2 separate regions of the Homo sapiens genome follow, and region 2 is linked to region 1. The links are contacts of gene promoters, found by promoter capture Hi-C in human tissues and cell types (Jung and others, 2019). All regions are on one chromosome and are shown on one strand. The core of a region is centred on a gene start or on the middle of the fragment in contact, and the rest is flanking DNA. Distances in the headings are between cores, read along the strand shown.

Region 1 (7,020 bases), core at 547-3,046:
CACAGCCCTGATGTCTGGGGTCAGGAGAACATGGCCTTGCTCTGGCGCTTACCTGGGGGCCTTGGGCTCCAAAACCAGAACAGAGTCCTAAGGGGGTGGCCTGGGTGTGTTTGTGCTTATCAGTGGGCAGGCTCTGGGCCTGACTGGGGACTGCAGCTCACCTGGGTCCCGGGGTTGCTGCTGAGTGGACATGTTGGATCCACGCGGATTATGCGCTTCTCTGCGGGTATGGCCTTGAGGGCCTCAGCGGTGGAGCGGAAGGGGTCCTCCTCCCTTCCTGCCTGCCGGCCCTTCTTCTTCTCAGGGCCCTCAGTCTGTACCCAGGGCTTCGGCTTTGGAGCCATGGCTGTCCTGGGGCACAGAGAGGCCCTTAGGCCTCCATGGTCTCCTCATCCCCAACGACCCACTCTCAGTCCCCACCCCTGCCCTGGGCCAGCACAGCACCAACTTGCCCCACCCCGGGTTGGCCCTTCGGTGGCCTCCCACTGCATCCTGTGTCCACTCTGACGGCATTCCCAGCCCCAGACCACACCCAGCTCTTTGTCACTCAGAAACACCCCTTTCCCCAGTCCCAAGTGCAAGGTTAGGACTCTGTCCAGTCTGCCCACTCTGGTCAACAGGGTCTGCCTGGCTCCCTACCCTCTGCAGCTCACCTGTGTGTCCTGAGGGGTAGGGAAAGTGAAAGGAGGCTCTCTCTCTTCCACTTCGGGGCTCCTCCCCCTGTGTCAGCTAGTTCAGCCCTGGCATGGTTGCCGGGCCGAGTCACCGAGCTATGGGGGAGGGTGGGCAGAGGATCCTGGGGGCAGGATTCTTGGGGCCAGATTATCCTCCCGGAGCTTAGAACCCAGAGCTGTAGAAGCCCTTCCCAATGGACTCAAGAGTTCTGAGGAGCCAGAACTCCGGATCAGTGGCCTTGAACTGATAGAGGGCAAAGGCCAGTCCCACCAGGCCTTGCCCTGCCCTGCCGTGGGCAGGACCATAGGACACTCACCCAAGAAAAGCAGGGACATGGGAGAGGTCCTGGCTGCCACCCGGCCTGGTTGTGTGCGCCTCCCAGGGCAGTCCCAGGTCTAGCAACTCTCCATGAGCCTCAGGCGTGAATTAGGGAGAGAATTCCCAACAATCGCCAGAGGCCGGGGATGAGCTTGTGTGGGGGATTAGACATCGGCTATTTGGCCACCAGTGGGGTGAAGCAGAGGCTGGGGCAGGCCGAGTCAGGCGACCAGTCCCACGGACGGGTGGACACTCGATCTGGCATATCCAAGGCCGGGGCAGTCGCGTCCGTAGCGCTGCTCATGTGGCCGGGGCCTGCAGCACGCATCTGCCGGTCGCGCGGTGACCTTGGGCCCGGATACAGACGCAGCCTCCCTCTCCCCGGGGCTGCTTGGATCCCCGTTGGGTCTAGCGCCGGGCTGCCCATGGAGGGGAGGAGTCACGTTCCAGAACGCGAAAGGGCGCCGCGTCTCTGGCGCCCCCCAGCGGCCAAGGGGCGCAAACACAGAGAAGGCTCTTGCTCCGACTTCGAAGTGGGCCAGCAGCAGAGCGCAAGCGCCACAGCATCAGGCCGGAAGCGCCGTGGAGATGCGGGCTTCCTACTCGAGCCTGGTGCGGGAGCCTAGGAACTTCAGGAGGCGGGGCTACAAGCGTGCATCCTATGGGTGCCTGGGGGCGTGGCAGAGCCTGCAGAAGGACCCAATGGAGCAGTAGGAGGCGGGGCCCGGCGGGCGGTGGAAGCCTATCAATACGCGGGGTCTTGCCAGGCGGCTGGGGAGCTGGGAGGGTTCAGCTGCCACGTGAGTTCTGCGGCCGCTGCTACACGCCTGGTGGGCAGCATGTCGGCAACAGCGGCTGCTCGTAAGCGGGGAAAGCCGGCCTCTGGGGCCGGGGCTGGCGCGGGGGCCGGCAAGCGGCGGCGAAAGGTGAGCATGGCGCTTCTGAGGGCCGCGGTCAGCCCTGCTACTGGGACAACCGTCATCCCATCCAGGGGACCTGGGTCCCGGCCCTTCCCCAGCCCTTCGCCCTGGACCCCTGCTGGAGTCAGCTTCGTCCCTCTCTCCGCGGGCCAAATCCTAGAAAGCCGTTCGCTTAACCCGGGAACCACCGCCTTCCCCATTCCTGGGGTTCTGAGGGAACCGAGGGGGGGGGGCCCTTGGTCAATGCCAGGGTGGTCTGGACCCCTGACCAAAGAAAAGACCGTATAATTCCCAGGCCGACTCTGCGGGGGACAGGGGCAAATCCAAGGGTGGCGGCAAGATGAATGAGGAGATCTCCAGCGACTCTGAGAGCGAGAGGTGAGCTATTCTTTTCCACATAGTGGGAGGGAAAACTGAGTCCCATGGTGCACGGAAGACTGAGTGAGTCCGAACAGAACTGAGCCTAGAATCCAAGACTCTGTCCCTTGGCTCTGAGATCGTGGCTGTTTCCTTTAGTTTCTGGTCCTGCAAAGTCTTGTTTCTGCGAGGTCTCTGGGTGGGAAGGACCCTGGGCCCCAATCCGAGGCCATTGAGACCTCCTTAGGTTTTGGCAGGGACTGGACTGATTGAGAAATTGCAGGAAAACAGAACAAAGCTGTCAAGTATTTCTTGCATCCTTCTTCCCTTGCCAGTTTTCCTGCAATTTCACAATTACTGGGCTCCCCGTCTCTTAACATGCCAGGCACTGCCTTTGCTGTTGGAAGTGCAGAGATAGGCAGGCGGGTGAAGAGAGTGTGTTGTAGTGAGGTGTGTATTTTATAGTTGTGTGTTCTGGGAACAGAGGAGGGACATTTAAATAGGGTCTTGAGAGATGAAGAGGAGTCTCTCACGGAGAGGTAGGGAAGGCATTCAGTGATCAGAGGAAAGTCTGAGGTGTAAGTGTGCCAGAATGGGCAGTAGAAAAGATGAAAGGGGGCTGGGCCTGGTAACTCATGCCTCTAATCCCAGCACTTTGGGAGGCCAAGGCGGGAGGATTGCTTGATGTCAGGAGTTTGAGACCAGCCTGGGCAACATAGCGAGATCTTGTCTGTACAAAAAAAAAAAGTTAGCTGGGTATGGTGGTGTGCACCTGTAGTCCCAACTACTCAGGAGGCTAAGGTTTGGGGATCCCTTCCCAGGGAGTTGAAGCTGCAGTGAACTATGATCATGCACTGCTCTCCAGTCTGGGTGACAGCAAGATCCTGTCTCTAAAAAAAAACCACACACAAAAACAGGAGGACTGGTCATAAGTGCATGTAGATTGTAGAGGGCTTTGGATGCCTCCCTCATTTCTGCAGGTGATGGGTGTGGTTGCTTGCAGGTTTTCAAAGGGTCAGGCATGGTGTCAGGCCTGACCCTGTGGGTTGGAGGCTCTTGGACCAGAGAATCCTAGTGCCTTCCCTATGAGTTGACTTTAGAACTCGCTTCTAAAATTGAGTATGTGTTGCCTTAATTTGCTCATGGAAAGAATGTACTTTTTTTTTTTGTTTTTGAGACAGAGTCTCACTCTGTTGCCCAGGCTGGAGTGCAGTGGTGCGATCTCGGCTCACTGCAACCTCTGCTTCCCAGGTTCAAGTGATTCTCCTGCCTCAGCCACCTGAGTAGCTGGGATTATAGGCCTGCACCACCATGCCTGGCTAATTATGTATGTTTAGTAGAGATGGAGTTTCACCATGTTGGCCAGGCTGGTCTCGAACTCCTGACCTCAAGTGATCCGCCCATCTTAGCCTCCCAGAGTGCTGGGATTATAGGCGTGAGCCACCACACCCAGCCATTAATGTACTTTTCTTAATCCGAAGGTTATTGTGGGTGAGTGTGTGCCAGGCTAGTGTGGGCTAAGTGCTTTTAAATATTTTTAGAATGTTGTGTTGTGAAGTGTGTTAGATACAGAAAAGTGAATGAGATATATTTGCACTACAGAGAGTAATGGTAAAATGGTAAACCTCTGTACACTTACTTACCACTTAGGTTAAGAACTAGAACATTTGCAGAAACTTAGAAGCCGCAACTGTCATTCCTAACTTGAGTTAATCATTTCTTTGGTTTCTTTGTTCTTCTTTTAAAAAATTAACATTTTCCATTTAGGTATAATTTACATATAGTAACATGCCCTTTTTAAAGTTATAGTTCAGTGAGTTTTGACAAACACACACAGTTGTGTGACCACCTCTACCCTGAAGGTAAAGAGTTTCATCACCCTCCAGAACTCCTCCTGCTCCTTCGTAGTCAGCCCCTCTCCTTCCCCCCAAGTCTCTGCTAACCACTGCCCCTAGAGTTGTGCATTTTCTAGCATGCCCTGTAAATGGAATCATAGTGTGTACTTCCCTTGCATTTCTTTAGCGTTCTGTCTCATGCGTATGAATCCTTCAACAATAGATTAATTAGTTTGGCTAAATTGAGTAGAAGTCCGAAGTTAACACAGGTCCCTTGGCTGTGTAAGGGAAGGGCAGCACTAGCCCTGTTGGCTGAAGGCTTGCCAGGCACAGGGCACTAAATTATTTCTGGGGCATGGTCCAGCTTTGGCTTTCCTGAGAGTTTTCAAGGTCCCTTCTGGGGAAGTCAGGGGCAGGTTTACGAGTGAGTCTTGGGAAACACGGTTAGGGGAGTGGACAGAGACTAGATGTCTTCAGGCACATGATCAGAGGGAGTGGGCTGCCTTGGATTCTCTGTGTCTGAGTGCCCATGACCTACCCCCAGCTCCCAGGAGCAGGTCAAAGCAGCACCTGTCTTTGGGTGAAGTGAGTACTCTCAGCTGGTCCGGGGGCTGGGGCATGGAGGGGAAAGCCGTAACTTCACCAGTAAAGGCCAATCCCCAAACAGTGAAGGTTCGCTTGGAACCTTGTTCCCAGGGTAAAGGATGGTGCTGTGGTGATGACAGTCCTGGTGTGTCTGCCTGGTGGGTCCTTGGATCTGATCCAGACTGCCCCCGTCATGTCTGGGGATAGTGTCACCCTTTCTGCTCTCTTGTGTCGCATCTCTGGTTTCCGGTATCCCTTGCCTTTCTCTTTCCCAGTTTACCCTCTTGTTTGGGAGCACAGCTTCTATCCTTCCTAAAGAAAAAGAGGGAGAAAATTCCATGGCACCTTGCACACCTGGCAGTGTCGTCGTTGATTGTTTGACTGGGCATGGCATTTTAGGGGTCAGTGTATTCCTCCAGAGCTTTGTGTGTGAGGCTTCTTTGTCTTCTTGTTCTCAGTATTGCTGTTGAGATGCCTGCACATTTTGATTCCTGACTCTTTGTATGTGACCTGATTTCTTTTGGAAGCCTGGTTTCTCTTGGAAGCCTCCTCTTTCCCCCAGAGTTGAGAGGCTTTAGTGATCTCTTTGGGATTTGGGTCTGTTTCCACCCCTACGTGGGGCACTGAGTGGGGCCTTTTAGTTTGGGGAGTCACATCCTTCAGTTTTCTGCAGTGTAGTCACCGACCATGTGGGCTAGCAGGGAATAGGGGAGGTTGGATGGCAAGGTGAGCATCCAGAAGGCACGATCCTAGCGGTCAGAGGAACAAGGTGAGCCCCTCAGACCCAGCCCCTTCCTGCCCACAGCCTAGCTCCAAGGAAGCCTGAGGAGGAGGAGGAGGAGGAGCTGGAGGAAACTGCACAGGAAAAGAAGCTGCGCTTGGCCAAGCTCTACCTAGAGCAGCTCCGTCAGCAAGGTGAGCCAGTGGGCAGGCCAGCCATGGGCAGGGCTTCTGCCTGTGCTGGTCTGCTGCCCGCCGCTGCAGCCCCAGCCACTTGATGGGTGACTGACATGGATTCCCAGTGGGTGCCCAGGCTGTCAGTGCTGGCTGCCCTGTGGGGGTGGCCAGAAGCTCTCATGGGCCTCCTGGGGAGCCCGCAGGGGGCTGATCTGATAAGTAAAGGCAGGAGGAAACCCTCCAGCTTGCCCTCCCCTCTGCTGAGGCAGCTGGAGCTTCCTGCATTATCCAGCCCTGGGGCAGTGGGATGGGGACAGGATGGAAGGGAAAGAGGGGTCTCAGCCTCAGTTTACTTGGTCTGGTCTGTCCTGCACAGAGGAGGAGAAGGCTGAGGCCCGTGCATTTGAGGAGGACCAGGTGGCGGGGCGCCTGAAGGAGGATGTGGTAAGTGTGGAGGGAGAGTTGGGGGAGGACGGGGGTGGAGCTGATCTGCTCCCAGGGTCTCATCCATCTCTTCTCCATGCAGCTTGAGCAGAGGGGCAGGCTGCAGAAGTTGGTGGCAAAAGAGGTGAGTGGGCATGGTATTTTGGTATAAGGTTGGAGGGAATTGGGGGCCCCACTTGGAACATGGTGGACACTTGGGCCTATCTGGTCAGGTAAGGATCTGGTTGTTGTAGCCTTGGGTCTTGTTTTCCTTCTGGCCTGGGTGGGAAAGGCCAACACTACGCAGTGGGGTTGGTGAAGGTAGTGCCTTTATGCCACTAGCCACAGTGACCTGGCCCCTGTCTGCCCAGATCCAGGCCCCAGCCTCAGCTGACATTCGCGTTTTACGGGGGCACCAGCTCTCTATCACATGTTTGGTCGTCACCCCCGATGACTCAGCCATCTTCTCTGCTGCCAAAGACTGCAGCATCATTAAGTGTGAGTGAGTGCCTGGGTGGGGCTGGAGCCCCCATGGCGGATCCGGGAGGGCTGGTCAGGGGAGTGGGAGTGGTCATGGCAGGCTGAGCCCTGAAGTGGGGAAGTCTCTGGAGGCAGGTTTGCTGCCCTAGGAGTGCTCTCTGGGTGACAGTGAAAGCTGCTGCCCGGCAGTGGGGCTTATGAGCTCCCTGTCCCTAGAGACCTTTGGGCAAAGTCAGGATGATGATTTAATGGGAATTAATGCTGCAGGTAGGTGGTTGGACTAGAAGACATTTGAGGCTGTGCAGTCCTGGGATTGAGTGCCCGGTCCTCCTGGGTTCCCATCCGTTGCTGGCTGACCAGCGGTTCCTTCTACACCCGCTGTAGTAACAGAAGAACTCACACCATCAATCCCAAAGCCCTTTTACATCCCTTCTCTTTTTTGGGCTTTGTGGCTGCTGTTTGGCACTAATGTCCCTCTTCATAGATGAGGAAACTGAGGCAGCTTGTCCGGAGGCTCACGGTGGCTGAGC
Region 2 (7,020 bases), core at 2,618-5,117, 240 kb after region 1:
GAGGACTGCAGAATGCAGCAGGAGGCCCCTCTGCAGCCCTCCCCCGTGCAGGGCTCCCAGGAGCAGCATCCAGGGAGTCAGCAGGCCCCTGCCTCTGGTACACACCAAGTCCCAGTTGAGGAGGGAGCTGAAGTACGAGGAGGATGGAGAAGGCCTGAGAAATACTCAACCAGCTGCAAGGAGGAGGGTGCTGGGATGAAACATGTTAAGGGTTTTCTCTCCCTATGCCTGGGTCGACCCTGAGAAACCCTTACCCACCCCACCCCCAATGACTGGTGCTTCCTGAGCCACAAGATAGCAAAAGGGGATGATGAGAGCACTCTGCTGGTGGTTGGGGTGCCCCAAACCAGTGCTGAGCCAGGTTGATGGCCCAAACTCCTTCTAACCTGCTCCTTCCACCCCCAATACATCCTCCAAGCAAGCAGCCCCTTCATCTGCCCTGTCCAGGAGCAACCCCTGGGTTCATCTCCCTGGATCAGAGGCACTGAATGCAGGCTGGGGTGGCAAGGAGGAACACATGGCTCAGGCTCGCTGTGTGCAGGAATCCAGACTGGGAGAAAGTGGATCTGCTACCCTTCCTGTATGATGGGGAGAGGGTCAGCTGTCAAACATCACAGAAGGTGAGGGGTTAGCCAGCTTCCCCAGCCACTGTCTCCATGGTGTTGGAGCCAAGCCAGGTGCAGCTGGGGTCTGCTTGGCGCCTGGACTCAGCCTGGGGCTTTCCTTGAGCCTCAAATGGGGCCTAGGTTGGGGGTGGGAGAATTAGGAGAGGGGGGAATTTGGGGTCTCTCCCTACCCCCACCACCCACTCAGCCCCCAGAATATGCCCTCTGGGCGCTACTGGCAGAGGTGAGGTGAGCCCTAGAAGCCCAGGCTGCTGGCCCAGGGCCCTCCTCTTGCTGAGGCCCCAGGTGTGGCTCCCAGGACAGAAGCCTGTGAATGAGGTGGTCAGGGAGCTGGGGGAGCTTTAAGTTTTGGGTAGTTTCTTCTGACCAGGGGACAGGATGCCAGGCCCTCACTGCTCCTTAAATAATGATCAGTGCCCCAGGGACCGCAGGCCTGAAAAGAGCAAAGGAGGGAGACAGTTTCTCCCTGGCCCTATTAAACTGTATGTTCTGTCTGCCCACCCACCCAATGGCTCTCTTGGGACCCCAGGTATAGGAATGTGCCTGCTTCCCAGCATGCTACCTCCTACCACCCAGCTCCTAGGCTAGGAATGTTCAGAGGAAGGAGCCTAGGGGTGCCTCCTTCAGGCCAGGACAGCCTGCTGAAATGAAGACAGCCCCTGGAGACATATATACACTTCAAGCAAAGGAATTCAGCTGGAGGCCAGGCACGGTGGCTCACGCCTGTAATCCCAGCACTTTGGGAAGCTGAGGCAGGTGGATCACATGAGGTCAGGAGTTCCAGACCAGCCTGGCCAACATGGCAAAACCCCATCTCTACTAAAAATACAAAAATTAGCCGGGCATGGTGGCAGGCACCTGTAATCCCAGCTACTCAGGAAGCTGAGGCAGGAGAATCGCTTGAACCCACGAGGTGGAGGTTGCAGTGAGCCAAGATCATGCCATTTCACTCCAGCCTGGGCAAAAAAGGAAAACTGTCTTTAAAAACAAACAAACAAAAAAAAGGAATCCAGCTGGGCATGGTGGCTCATCCCTAGAATCCCAACACTTTGGGAGGCTGAGGCAGGATCACTTGAGCTAACAAGTTCAAGGCCAGCCTGGGCAATATGGCGAAACACCATCTCTATAAAAAATACAAAAACTAGCCAAGCATGGTGGTACACGCCTCTTGTCACAGCTACTCAGGAGGCTGAGGTGGGAGGACAGCTTAAGCCTGGGAGGGAAAGGTTACAGTGAGCCGAGATCTTGCCACTGCACCACTCCAGCCTGGGCGATAGAGCCAGACCTTGCCGCAGAAGAAAAAAAAAAAAGGAATGCAATACGGGGAAGTAGCATCCCTATACCCCCACCAAGATCTACACAGGAGGAGGTCCCAGAGTCCCATGCCTGCATCCCTGGGCAGAAGATACCAGGCAAGGCAGGGCCCTACCTAAATCCCCACGACTACTGGGGCAGGGGACTTGAAGCCCACCCCCTTCACCCAAATCCCTCCCTCTCGCTCTGCCCACAGCCAGTGCAAGACGATCAAATATTCATCGCCTCTCTGAAGCTAAATAATACATCAATGTAATAACAGGCACAAGGCAGCTAATCACCCCCTTTCACCTCCCGGCCTAAGCTAGGGCCACAGCAGGGAGGCGGGCAGGGACAGGCCAAGCCTTGGGCAGTCAGACATCCTGCATGCACCCACCACCAACTGCTGTGTCAGTGGCATGCACCTGGTGGGCAAACACCGAGTCCCGCTGGGGTGTCAGGACAGGCCCTGTGAGAGGTGGGCAGACCCCTTGGCCCCAACACCAGGGAGTGGGTGGGCGGGCTGGAGGGGAGGAAAACAGGCTGAGGAGCTGGGGAATGTGGGAGCTGCCACTACAGCCAGCTGTAGTGGGTGCCAAGCAGTCCTTCAATGACCCTGACAGGCAGTGTTTGGGAGGGAAGGAAGCTGGGTGGGTGGGTCAAGGAGGGGGAGGCAGGCAGCAGAGGGAGGTCACAGTAAAGTGAAGGCACTCTGTCTTCCTGCCCTGGAGGCTGCCTGGGCCTGCTGACCTTGTGCCATGTCCTGTGCCCACAGTAGGGGCACTGAAGAGTGTCTGCCGGGCACTACCAGGCAGAAGGGAGCTGTACCCCATGGAGGTAATTAAGTGGCAGATGAAGTTAACTGTGTTGGACACAGGCCCCTAGGGAGTAGAGACTGCTCCCAATACCCTCCTACCCAGCCCTAGCTGACACGTCTCCCTAGGGTGACCTTGGCTGTTGAAGACTGGATGGGCAGAGCATCTGCTAAAGAAGGAGGAGAGGAGGGACAGTTCCTCTCCCCACAGCCCTGTACCACTCCTAGAAGTCACAAACTCCACCAGGTTGGCCAAGGATAAGGCCCCCTGGGACCATCTGGGATGTAACCCAGCAGACCCCCTTGTGCCTGAGACAGCCCGGGGTCACAGATCATTGCAGAGGGGTGGGCAGGCAAGCAGCCTTCCAGCCTGGACCTGGGGCCTTGAGGCTGCCAGCAGGAGTGTGGGCTGGCCCTGGAGAAAGGCACAGGTGACTGATCTCCTGGCTCCCCTCTGCATGCTCCCTGGTTGTTCCCTGGCAGGGAGAAAGCAGCTGGCTCTGGGTGGGGCCCGTACTGAGGGACAAGAGAACACTTTGCTCCCCTCCTTACCTTCCAGATCTATGCCAATCTTACTTCCTGCTGAGCCCCACCCAAGGGACTCCTTTCCTGAGCAGCCTCAGCCCCCTCCCATGAACATCGAGCTGTCTGTGATCTTTGTTTCCAAGGGTACTCCTGCTGCATCTGGAGGGAATCCAGGCAGGGTCTTTGTATCTGTGTTGCCAGGAGGTAATGTGTGTGAATCCACATCTATGTAGATCCATGTGTCTGGGAACAGGCAACTCCACATGTGGGTCCTCAGGTAGGTGGGTCTCCTTCCTCCCTCTGCCAAGCATAGCCTGACACCCACAGTGCCAACCCAGAGAGGGAGGAGCCTCCTCAACCAAGCCCCTGGAGTCCAGAAGAGAGGAGCTCCAGGAGGGCCCCATCCTCATACCCCACCTTCTGTACCTGTGCCATCCACCTGGGTGTCAATGGCCTCCACAAGCCCCCGCCATTTCCACTCTGTCTCCTTCATCTCAGGCACATAGAAGTCTCCCTGCCGTGCCAGTGGGCACATGAAATGGATCTGGTCTTCCTGGTAGATCTCCAGCCGAGGATAGGCACACAGCTTCCGCTCCTAGTCAGAGAGTGGCAAAAGGTAGAATGAGCCCTACAGGGCCCCTGACTCACTTGTCCCTGGGTGACCCCCAGAACTGTCTATTACCTATTCTGTCCCAGGGGCTGGCTCTGCCTCTCAACCTCTTCCAAGTTCCAAAGCCCTGCTGAGGGAGGCACACATAGATCACCCTAACAGCAGGGCCCCATAGTCCAGAGTGCAATAATAGTCTGAAGACCCAGGACGACACCCTAGGGCAGGTGGTAAAAGAACCCAGGAGCCTGGCACTGCTCTCCTATGTGTACATCTGAGACCAAAAAGCTGTTCCAGAAGGCACTGGTCTCACAGAGCCATGAAGCTTGGCACCCCTGGACCACCCCAGGATAGGGACCCCATGTGCCTAAGCCAAGGTCTCACCTACCAGACTTTCCATCCCAGGACCCCCTGGCCCTGACCTCCTCTCCACCCTGGACAACGCTGACTGACCCACAGATATCAGAAGACCAGCACCCCCAGTCCTTAGGCCTCCAGCCCCTGCTCTTGCAGACATGCTACTATAGACCCTGAACAAGGATCAAGGCCAGCTAAACACCACTTCCACTCCCATTCATTCCCCTGCTAGTTTAGAGCTATGTCAACCTCTGAGACTATCAGGTATGGTTCCCATACCTCCTCACATGTAAACTCAGGTTTTAGCTGATGGGGAAGAGGGAGACCCTGGACTGGAAGGTCAGGTAGGACAAGTAGATCTAGCACAGGACATTACCCAGTGGGCTGATGTACCACCTTTTGGGCCCCAAGTTCCAAAAGGCACTCCACCTCCCTCTGCCTAGACACAGAATCCAGTGCTCCCCATCCCCCAATGAGTATGGAGGGGCACAGACATGCCAGAGCCACCCTGAGGCAGGCAGGGACAGCCAGAACAGGGGTCAAGTTGCCTCTTACTCAGAGCCTGCCCCGCCACCTTTCCTGCGAAGGAGCACAAATACCCACTATGATGACTGCAAGGCCCCTGCCCTGTCACTGCTCACCCGCCAATCTTCACAACACGACTATTTATAGCATTCGCCCCGCTCTCACCATGAGCTCTGAAATGAGCCTTCCACTTAGCAGTAATGAGAGACTTATTGCCTGGCAAGGAGAAGCCACTCCAAGACTCCACTTGTCCACCTGCCTGGCCAACCCTAGGGTTGAGGAACCTCCTTCAACTAAAGCAAGCTAGCAAAGAAGGGTTAAAAGCAAGCCCACGGATGATAAAGGGAAAGAGGAGTGAGCCTGAAAGGTTTACCTAGCTAGGACCCTCAGCAGCCAGCTGAAGGGAGGGTGCATCTAGGAGGCCACGCGGGAGGTGGATGGCCTGTCCCAGGTCTGGCTGTGGCTCAGCCTCTGACTCCATGGGTGATCCAGGCAAAGCCTTCCATCCTAAGTCTCCATGTGCTCAACAGCAAAGTAGAACACCCTAGCCCTGATGCTTCCAAGGTCGGTGAAGGAAAGTCATTATTTTTTAATAGTTGGAGTCAAATCTTCTTTGCCAACCTGGGTGCCCTCGGGGCTTCCTCCATCTCAAGAGTCCATGCCCCTGACACGTCCCATTTCTAAACACACAGATGGCTGTCTTTGCTTCTCTACCCACTCACATACCCACTCCAGCCTTGGTCTCCAGGAGGAGGCTAAACAAGATCACAGTGTCAGGAAGCAGGAGCTGTCAGGCTCTGGGGCCCCTCCAATGCCAGCACTTAGAGGCAGGCATCTGCCAAACCTGAACCCAACTCAGCAAACTGGTCCAGGTCACTGAGGCCAGGGGCAGGGAGGCCCCTGAAGAAGGTCCAGGTCCTTCCCCAGTAGCTAGATGAAAGAAAAGGATCCCTGAATCTAGTCAGGGCATGGCCTTCACCAACATCCTCACACTCTGGACAAAGGACCCAAAGGGTAGTAGCTGAGTGGCCATCACAAGAGCAGCAGACATTTGGCTTTTGGGGGAAGATCCCAGAGGACAGAGCCTGTGTCCACCCAGAGATTCCAGGGACAATGGGGACCCTAGCCCAACCCCTCTCAACACTCAAGCCACCTCCCTAGCTTCCCTTCTGGAGGAACTTGGCCATAACAAGATAATAAGAGGGAGTACTGCTCTTTCCACCCTCTCCCCTAGGCTGGGCAGCACCAGGCTGCCACCCTGTGCCACCTGTTCTGCCAGCCCCCTCGTTGGCAGGCGGGAGGCAGCTCTGCGGCTGTTCTGCGCATCTGCTTCCTCCGGAGAGCCCGGCTCTGAAGTTGCCTGGCTGTGGACAGCCCCGTTGCCATGGAAACTGCATCCTCCATCCTTGCCGTCGCCTTCATCTCAAAGCCATCAGGGAGAACAGAGGATCAAGGGAGACAGAGGATGGAGAGAAAACTGTGGCCCTGCGACACAGCCCTTCCTTCTCTGCCCAGCTCTCCCTCCTCACAGCATCTCACACAGGGAGCACCAGGTCCCAGAGCCTGCTCCCAGACCCCTGGAGGGGCAGCCTCAGGCCCAAAACTAGCCTGGTCCTACCTGCTGTTACCTGGGGGCCCTGGTCCTCCCTACTGGAGGGAGGCATGGAGCTAATTAAAATGCCATTGACTGTTCAGCCCCAAATCATTATAGCACATGCACCAGGTCCTACCAAAATTCAGACTTGGGCAGAGAAGGGACAGGAAGAAGGCAAAGGAGCAAACTTCTAAGCCAGGCCCACAGGCAGAGAAGGGGCTTGTAGTTGCCCCCTGGCCCTTCCTGGGAGACTGCTCTCCCTTGCATGCTCTGCCCACTGAGCAAGAATGACTCTAGTGGGGGCTGGGGATGGAAGGTGAGGGGCAGGACAAGCTATATGCTCTGTCCCTGAGTGATCAGGCAGAGAGGACAAGCCCTTTCCCTCCCAGCCAGGTGCAACCTCGGAGGGAAGACAGGGTGACCATGGGCTGGCTCTCAGGTCCTTGCTGCACAGTAGGAGCCATGGCCCGGGCAATATGTCAATGAGCCAGTAAATATTGGAAAATCATTGGAGGAAGGCGAGGCCAGCTGCCTCTCCCTCAGTTAGCCCCAGGGAGCCCTTGGAGAGCAGACTGCCAGTGGCCAAGGACACTAGCTCAAGGTCACACTGGGCTGGTCCCACTGGTGAAGAGCCTGGGTGGGCCTGGGGTCCTCCTAGCCCTGGCACATCCCCTTCCAC

The links. The method cuts DNA at HindIII sites, captures the fragments that hold promoters and counts their contacts. A contact is called where the count stands out against the background at its distance.
Region 2: a contact is called between a fragment that was not itself captured here and the fragment with the promoter of RRP9 in region 1, in 1 of the 25 tissues and cell types used here (dorsolateral prefrontal cortex).

The regions. Positions count from the first base shown.
Region 1 is chr3:51,936,680-51,943,699 of GRCh38, reverse strand. It overlaps RRP9 (ribosomal RNA processing 9, U3 small nucleolar RNA binding protein), which reads left to right and starts at 1,796. Exons shown (of 15, transcript NM_004704.5): 1 at 1,796-1,919; 2 at 2,209-2,291; 3 at 5,496-5,605; 4 at 5,964-6,031; 5 at 6,114-6,155; 6 at 6,382-6,508. The coding sequence starts at 1,833. It overlaps PARP3 (poly(ADP-ribose) polymerase family member 3), which reads right to left and starts at 1,337. Exons shown (of 11, transcript NM_001003931.4): 1 at 992-1,337; 2 at 162-346. The coding sequence starts at 344. RefSeq lists enhancers at 1,332-1,661, 1,786-2,434. The HindIII fragment of the contact is 37,282 bases long and covers 1-7,020 here.
Region 2 is chr3:51,696,239-51,703,258 of GRCh38, reverse strand. TEX264 (testis expressed 264, ER-phagy receptor) reads right to left here. Exons shown (of 5, transcript NM_015926.6): 4 at 3,685-3,853. Among named protein-coding and RNA genes, the nearest start is that of GRM2, 7.3 kb to the left of the region's middle. The HindIII fragment of the contact is 8,284 bases long and covers 1-7,020 here.